Linked DNA regions of Homo sapiens: region 2 is linked to region 1. The links are contacts of gene promoters, found by promoter capture Hi-C in blood cells and fetal thymus (Javierre and others, 2016). All regions are on one chromosome and are shown on one strand. The core of a region is centred on a gene start or on the middle of the fragment in contact, and the rest is flanking DNA. Distances in the headings are between cores, read along the strand shown.

Evidence for each region. Contacts are between HindIII fragments. The CHiCAGO score rates a contact against its expected background, and 5 or more counts as called.
Region 2: a fragment that was not itself captured here is called in contact with the fragment with the promoter of LOXHD1 in region 1 in 2 of 17 cell types (megakaryocytes and M2 macrophages); the score reaches 6.5 in megakaryocytes.

The regions. Positions count from the first base shown.
Region 1 is chr18:46,654,616-46,659,047 of GRCh38, reverse strand. It overlaps LOXHD1 (lipoxygenase homology PLAT domains 1), which reads left to right and starts at 1,828. Exons shown (of 41, transcript NM_001384474.1): 1 at 1,828-2,144. The coding sequence starts at 2,015. RefSeq lists enhancers at 771-820, 631-1,580. The HindIII fragment of the contact is 3,833 bases long and covers 1-3,217 here.
Region 2 is chr18:46,554,667-46,559,098 of GRCh38, reverse strand. LOXHD1 (lipoxygenase homology PLAT domains 1) reads left to right here. Exons shown (of 41, transcript NM_001384474.1): 21 at 1,610-1,743. Among named protein-coding and RNA genes, the nearest start is that of LOXHD1, 100 kb to the left of the region's middle. The HindIII fragment of the contact is 3,708 bases long and covers 185-3,892 here.

The DNA.
Region 1 (4,432 bases), core at 579-3,078:
GATCTGTATATCCTAGTGGTTCTGTCTGTCTGGAGAACCTTGAAATAATACAGAAATAATATAGAATTATTTCCCTGACCTCCTAGCCAGTGTGTTCCAGTACCATGGGATTCTCTAAAAATATTTTGATTTCAGCTTTTAAAGTTCTAAGAAACAGCCGGGCGCGGTGGCTCACGCCTGTAATCCCAGCACTTTGTGAGACCGAGGTGGGCAGATCTCGAGGTCAGGAGTTCGAGACCAGCCTGACTAACATGGTGAAACCCTGTCTCTACTAAAAATACAAAAATTAGCTGGGCATGGTGGCGTATGCCTGTAATCCCAGCTACTCGGGAGGCTGAGGCAGGAGAATCACTTGAACCCGGGAGGCGGAGGTTGCAGTGAGCCGAGATCACACCACTGCACTCCAGCCTGGGCGACAGAGGGAGACTCCGTCTCAAAAAAAATTCTAAGAAACGTTTTATTATCTTTTCCCTGAATGGGTACTCGTGTAAAATGAGTTTTCTTAGTAGATTCCTAGAGATCCTTAAGGAAGGTCTCTTCCTGAAGAATCCAGGTGTGTAAACCACATATTGCCAGAAGGGGGCGCGCGCCACCCACCATTAAACTTCACTCCTGGTCCTCAGAGGACTTTGAGCTGCTTCAAGGGCGGCCCCTCAGCTGAATAGGGGAAGAGGGGAGGTTGATCTTTCCTGGGTAGGAACGTTCGGGGTTAGAGATGCCTCCCCCTAGTGGAAGATTTGGATGGCTCCAAAGAGCAGGGCAGGACCAAAGCTGCCCCAGGCTGCCGGGGAGGCCTGTGAGTGCCGACTGCTCCTCAGGCGTCCGCTCCAAATCCTCTCTTCCTCTCCACCTGAAATTCCCCTTTAGAGTCACTATTTTGGCTTAGAGGACAAAATCACACGTGTTGCTTCTAGAGGACTCCTGTTAGCACACCTAAGTTACCTGAGAAGCGATTCAGGGACCCTCAACATGGCTGCACATGAAAGTCACCAGGAGCTTTAAAAACTGGGGCCCAAGCTGCGTCCCAAACCAAGCAAATCAGAATCCTTGGGGATGGGACCCACGCATTAGCGTTCAACACCTCTCTGGGGGCTTCTGGTGTGCAGCCCGGGCTGTGCGCCCTGGGGTAGGAGCTTGCTGATGCCCTCCCGTGAGTCCAGGTGGTGAGCTGATCTAGTTAGTGAGTTCACCTGGGAGGGCATCGGCTACGATGATGTTTAAACTTTAGTGCATATAAAGCTCACCTGGCAGGGGGAGCGGGGAGAGTTTTCTGGTGCCCTAGCTTTCCTCGTGCCCAGAGGCCACTTCCGGAAGCCCGCAGTCTTGATGAGATGGAAGCAGAGAGAGAGAACGAGAAGGATCCAGCGAGAACCCCGCCTGCTCCGTAAGACGATCAGAGGTCATGAATAATGGAGAGAAACGGGGGCCTTTGAGTCCTGGGAGCCTGGCTGATTCCGGGGCCCCGCCTTCCTCAGGAGGGTCCCGTGTGGGCTGTAAGGCTTGGGAGATCTCCTGGGTGAGGAGCCCTCACCTGTCCCTGGGGTGGCCTGGAGGGATCCCAGGTGACCCCCTGGCTGTGAGGCCAGGTGGGAAATGGACTTCAAGGGCTCCGTGTCACCTGATTCTCCATAGGGAGGAGAGAGGGCTGGTGGGGAGGGGAGAGAGGAAGGAAGTCAGCCTGCCCTCAGCGCCATGAATAAGTGATGAGGCCCAAAGAGAAGCCCCGGGGCAGGTACAGAGGAGGAGGAGGTGGCTCACCAGAGGGTGGTGGGAGGGGACAGGGACAGGAGGTTCAGAGATAAGGCACTGAGGTTCAGCTCAGGAGCCAGAGAAGGCAGAGGGAACAGCACCTTGGGCACGGGGAAGCCAAGAAAACGGGGCACTCTGGCCCACCCAGGCCTGAGCTATAGGAGGGCCGTGGGCGCCAGAGCTCAGGGAGGAGGTCTCAGGTTCCCGCAGGTGTGAGGAGGCGGCACAGTGAGCCTGCGAGCGCTGGGAGAAGGCAGCCGACAGAATGATGCCCCAGAAGAAAAGGCGGAGGAAGAAGGACATCGACTTCCTGGCCCTGTACGAAGCGGAGCTGCTGAACTACGCCTCGGAGGACGACGAGGGGGAGCTGGAACACGAGTACTACAAGGCCAGAGGTGCGGGGTCCCAGCCTGCGGGGGGCGGGTGGTGCAGCTGGCTGCGGTGGGCAGGGGTCTGTTCCTGTCTATGGGGAGTCATTCTAAGATTTCGGAGCAAGCCCTTCCTCACTGATTATCCCATGTGTCTGTTCCATATCCCCTCGGAGTAAGAAGGCAGGCATTATGCAGGGATGGTGGGGTCCCTGTTGTACAGACAGGTGGAGCAACTTGCCTTTAGCCCCCGATTCTCAGTGGAACAGAATAGACTAGAGCCACAGTGCCCCCATGGCCCCATGTTCTCCAGCTCCTGAACATCCCCAAAGCCACGTTCCAGTCTGGTCCCCGAGTAGGTGGTCTGCATCAGGCAGAGCGCCCTGAACTGCTGGGGTCATGAAAGGATGTCTTGGGGAGGAAGCCTGACAGCTCATCCTATGCCCACTGTGGTTGATGGAGACAGGGAGCCTGGGGCTTTGCAAGGAGATGTCCATCCCATATGTCGAAGGCGGCCGGTGCTCTGGACCCCAGGGCCTTGTCCTTCTAGTCTCATCTTTCCCTGGGCCACATGAGACCTGCTTGAAATTGCTCTAACTCCTTGCCAGGTAAACCAAAGAAGTGAACTGTGACCCTAGAGCTGGTTTTGGCCAGCAGAGTTTAAGTTGTTTTTTTCCTTTCCAGCGTTTTGAAATCCTTTTTTCTGTGAATGCCAATAGGCTGTGGACGTCCAGCTTATCACAGTCTCCACCACTCCCTGTCATCTCATACTAGGTCTGGTTTACTCATCAGTGCTGCCTGCCTAGTCTCTGAAGCCATTTAAATTCTCAATGCTGACTCCAAAGTGGCTCACCAGTCCCCGTAAGCGCCATAGTCATCCATGCATTCACTCATTCATTCATTCAGCAAGTATTTATTGAATGTGTGCTCTGTGCCTGCCCATGGCCTTGTTTGTCTTCCCCTTTCTCCCTCTTCCTGTCCTCACTCTGAAAGCCCAGTTCTGATCCCATCTCTTCCATGAAGCCCTCCTTGATTCCAGTCCACCATGAGTTCCCTGATTACATCCAATTCATAATTGTTCCATTGTTTCCTGCAAAGCTTGTCCAGCTGTGTCCGGCTTGCAGCCACAGTCACCCTAAACTCCGTGAGGGTGGGGCCTTGCTGTACTTGTCTTTAGTCCTCATCATTCAGCCCCTGCACAGTCCTGGGCTTAGAGGAGGTAGTCTCAGCTGAGATCAGGAAGGCTGTGGCCCCTTTCCAGGTACAGAATCCTGGGTACCTCCAAGGGTAGAAGGGGGGGCTGTAGTAGGAGGAAGTGGGCCCAGGAAAAAGGAAGCATCCGCCACCTTCTAACAGTACATGTGCCTCAAGCTCTGACCCTCTTGTGAGGGGAGGGGCTGGGAGGTGAGACATCAGGGCAGCATCCCCACCATGTGTGCTTGGCTTCCCAGGTGATTCTCCCCAGCCACGTGACTGTTGGTGAGATCATTCTAGAACCTCTCACAGCCAGCAGCACACTGTTGACTTCTGTTTACGGGCTCTGCATGCCTCAGTGTGGCCATAATGATCGTTCTCCTTTTTATCCTTTCAGAAGCCTTTTTACTAATGTTCTCATGTTTGATCCTTAAGATCCCTGAGCACAGTCAAGGCAGGCGGATCAGCACCACTTCACAAGTTAAAGACTGAGGCCCTGAGACATTAAGTGACTTGAGCAAGGTCACAAACAGGATGGACAACAAGAACCTCAAATATCTTTTTCGAGGCAAGCGCCCCATTTCATCTCATGATGCTGCCAAATAGGATCATGCACCATGCACCAGGCACTGAGTTAAGCACTTTATTCATGTTAACTAATTTCATCTTCATGATGACACATTGCAGCAGATGTGTTATCCTTTTTTTTCAGATGAGGAATCTGAAGCACAGAGAAGTTAAGTAACTTGCCCAAGATCACACAGCTAGCAAATAGCAGAGTTAGGATTTGAATCCAGCTGGTCTGGCTGGTCCTTGGTCTTGTACTGCCCGATTTTGACTGTGGTAAAAATAGCTGGAGAAGAGCAAGTGGAGGTGGGTGCCACGCTGACATTTCTAAGGGAACCATGGATTCTCCTGTCTGTTGCAGGGTACTGCCTATAAATGTGGATGATGCTAACGGTGGTCACATGCTGAGCTCCAGCTGTACTGTCATTGTCACCCTCTCAGTGCTAGAACAACGGTTCCCCCACTTCCTTTGAACTCTGGGCTCTGGTGTTACGTGGAGAGTCTTGATGAGTGTGATGGGGAGGAAGAAGGAGGGAAGAAAAGCCTAGGTGTTC
Region 2 (4,432 bases), core at 789-3,288, 100 kb after region 1:
AGCAACTTAAACTGGGCCTTGGCAGGTGAGTATGGTGTAGACATATAAAGGCAACAGTGGAAGATGTTCTCAGAAGATGGAACCACATGAGCAAAGATATGGAGGTGGAAATGGGGGAGGCCAGTTTAGGACAGTGTGTCTTCCAGCTGAGCTGTGGTCGGTGCTAAGCCCCAGTGGATAAGCTTGGATAAGAACAATTTAGGGTGTGGGGTGGGTGGGGTCATGAGAGGCTTAAGAGACAAGCTGAGAAGCCAGAACTGTATCCTAATGCAGTGGGAATCCATGAAAAGAAATACACATACCTTACTCTTCCAGGTGTAGTGGGAAAGTCATGAAAAATAAAGCCGTCATCTTTGCCCTTCAAGATTTTATAATATCCCCTGGCTAGAAAACTATCTCTTATCTCACCCTTCCCATTCCTGCCTCTACCCGAAAGCCAAATTCTCTCATTAACACAGATTTTTTAAAAATGAACTAAATTAATTAACATATTTCTGGGCTCATTTCTTGATTTATTTCAGGGGCCCCCTGCTTTTTCTTTAAAGAATCTTCCCCTTGACTTGAGGATGTAGTTTATTTCTGCGTTTCAGTGTTCTCCTTTAAAAATTATAGCCACATATTTCTGGATTAGGAAAAAATTTCTATAGAGGACTACATAACTTGTGCAACTGGTAAAATTTGAACATGGACTGTATATTATATAATAGCATTATGTTGATGTTAAGTTTTCTGAATTGGATCATTCTAGTGTGATTATATGAGAATATCCTTGTTCTTGGGAAATCCATGTTGAAGAATTTAGGGATGAAGAATCATGGTATCTGCCACTTACTTTCAAATGATTTAGAAAAACATACAGCAAGAGAGAGAGTGCAAGAGAGATGACAGAGTGAGAAAGCAAATGTTACAAATAAGTGCAGAATCTAAATGAAGGCATATGAACTTTCATCATACTATTTCTGAAAGTTTTCTGTAGATTTAAAATCTTTTTCAAAATTAAGAGTCAAAAAAGTTATATCCAAGAAGGCCCCATTTACTTATAGGTTCCTGGTGTGGTCTGCTTCCTCCCGTGCATGGAGCAGTGTGTGCATTCACATGGTGTGATCCATATGGCCCTCTTCACACCTAAATGGTGGGCAAATCCGTCTTCAGTTTCTGACAGTCACTTTGGATTTGCACAGCACCAGCTCATAGCAGGTACTTAATACAAATATGTGATTGAAGCAGATTATGCACACACCTGCACACATTGCAGAGGGTTTCAGTGCACCCCCCTCTCTTGCACACAAAACACCCACCACAGATGTGGGCATCCAGCAAACCTATCTTCTCTTCTGCCTCTCAAGGTCACCTTCACTCTTCCTCTCCTCCTTCCACCTTCCTGGACATGAGAGTGAGAAGATCTCCTGGCAGGGACAAGTTAGGGAAACAATTGTGCAGACCAAACACCAGACTACTAAGTGACATTCTCCATCATCCCCACTCCTGGTTGCTTTGGGTCTCACCATTGGCCTCTGGCTGGCTGCCCTGGTTCTTGGGAGGATGGGGCTGATGGCCATGTGGGGAGGGGTAGGTCTTACCCCACTGAGTGTTCCCTGGCCCTTCCCAGACAGACACCTTCACCATCTATGCCATTGACCTGGGGGCCCTGACCAAGATTCGGATTCGCCACGACAACACAGGCAACAGAGCAGGCTGGTTCCTGGACAGAATAGACATTACTGACATGAACAACGAGATCACGTGAGTGTGGGGGCAGTGGGCAGGGAGGGGTGTTGCTCTGAGGGAGGCCATGTCTGCCACAGAGGTAGTCCTGGAAGAAGACTGGGGGTGGGCCGGCTGTGACGGTGGAGGGTGAGGGTGGGCTGGGTGACACCTAAGGGTGAGGTGTACTGGCCGTGACATCCAAAAGTAAGGGTGGACTGGGGTGCACTGAGAATGAGGGTGGGCGGGTATGAGGGTAAGGGCGGGCTGGGGGTGATGTCTGAGGCTGAGGGTGAGCTGGGTTATGTCTGAGGGTGCAGGTGGGCTGGGTGTGACATTGGAGGGTGAGGGTGGACTGGCTGTGACGTCGAAAAGTAAGGGTGGACTGGGTGACATCTGAAAATGAGAGTGGGTGAGTATGAGGGTGAGGGTGGGCTGGTGGTGATGTCTGAGGCTGAGGGTGAGCTGGATGACATTGGAGGGTGAGGGTGGGCTGGCTGTGACACTGGAAGGTCAGAGTGGCTGTGACGTCACAGGGTGAGGGTGGACTGGGTGACATCTGAGAATGAGGGTGGGTGTGTGTGAGGGTGAGGGTGGGCTGGCTGTGATGTCTGAGACTGAGGGTGGGCTGGGTGACGTTGGAGGATGAGAGTGGGCTGGCTGTGACACTGGAGGATGAGGGCGAGCTGGCTGTGACATCCGAGGGTGAGGGTGGACTGGATGACATCTGAGAATGAGGGTGGGCAGGTATGAGGATGAGGGTGGGCTGGTTGTGATGTCTGAGGCTGAGAGTGGGCTGCGTGACATCTGAGGGTGAGGGTGGGCTGGCTGTGTTGCCTGTCATGGCCACCAGAGCAGGTTTGCCCACGTTGCAGGCTGGATGGGCATTGCCTCTCTCCCTCTTCTCTCATTGGCAGCCCCTAGTGTCACCTGCCCTGTGAGATGACAGTCCAATAGATCCCCCAGACCAGCAACTCTTGAGGTCCATCTGTTTAGAGAGACAGGATTTCCAATCCCTGTCAGACCTTCCTTGGTCCAGTTTCCATGCCTAGGCATAGCTCACCCATAAGCCTCTCAACGTATAAAGCAACTTCTAGTACATTCTTTTAATATTCTATACCAGGGATCAGCAAACATTTTGTGTAAAGACCAGATAGTAAATATTTTAGGTTTTGCAAGCATTTGGTCTCTGGAACAACAGCTTTGCTGGTGTAACACAAAAGCAGTCATAGATGATGCCTAAATGATTGGGCATGGCTGTGTCATTTTGACATGTGAAAATTATATGAATTTCAAATTTCAGTGTTGGACACTGAAATTTGAAATTCATATAATTTTCACATGTCAAAAAATATTATCCTTCCTTAGATTTTTCCTCCAGCCATTTAAAAATGTGAATCCATGCATAGCTTATGGATGTCCGCAAGCAGGGTAGGCCCGATTGGGCCTGAAGGCCGTAATTTGCTGACCCCTGGTGGAGGCTCACAGCTGCCACATGAGTTGGGCTGGGAAGAGAGTGTTATGTCTTCCCATAGGTCCACACCCCAGGGAGGTGAAGCCACAGCCCCATAATCAGTCAGTGCCACAGCTAGGACCAGAACTCCAGACTGTCTATGTTGAATTGAACGTGTTTTCATTAGGCCTCATTGCCCCTTGGGTGTAAGGGGCCCAAGGGCAAGAGAAAGGAGAGAAGTCCCCTTGTATGAGTGGAGTGGGACAGAGAAGAAAGCATGAGTGATCCTGAGTGGGCTTTGGGGCTGCTGAGGGCCTGCCAGTGCCTAGAATGTAATGGGCACCCTATCAACAAATATTTGTTGAATTAAATCAACTTTCCAGCCCATAGACTTGTTGGGCTCCCCTCTGTGCAGGGCAGGAGGTGACAGGGTTCTCCCATCTCCCACCCCACCCTCCCCTACCAGCCCGAGGGAACACTGAACCACAGCTCACAGACAGCCCATTGTCATGGTTTTCTGTGAGGTCATTGTGAAACCACATAAAGACCGTAGGACAGCCCCATGGCTGGGAACCAGGGTCCTGACCTGGAGTCTGACCTCTGCCAGAAACTCATCAGGTCACCCTGGACAAGTCATGCCATCTTTATGGGCTTTTGTTTCCTCTTCTGATAAATGGGCTTAATGTTGCCAGCCTAACTTCTTAAGATGTTCTGAAAATCCAAGGCATTTAAGCTTGGAAAGGAAAAAGTGCCACAGAACCATGAGGCTGGGGACAAACTGTGAACATCCCCAGCTTCCCCTTGCAGCTCCATCAGGGTTAGTAATTCTCTGCCACTGATTTGGCATTTCTCGGCTAGCCCAACAATTTAAACATTATTATAGCTTTACAATCTATAGTAATGCCTGTCAGTACTTGTCCCCCTTCATTATTCTTTAAAAATATTAGCTATTCTTGCCTTTTTCAAATCAAGACATTAAGTGACTTGAAAAAAAAATCCTCTTGGAATTTTGATTGTTATGCCATTAAGTGTATGTGTAGAGAATTGCATATTTAGAATAAGTGCTACCCTCCGGTACACTTTTCCATTTATCCAGCTGTTTATGTACCTCAGTAATGCTTTACAATTTCCTACACATAACTGCTACACATTCTTGTTAAGTTTATGCCCAGGTATATTATATTTTATTGCTCTTGTGAATAGAGTCTTCTCATTACTCTTCTTTTCCCCCCTCCCTTTCTCTTCTTTCTTCCTCCCTCCACTCTCCCCTTCCCT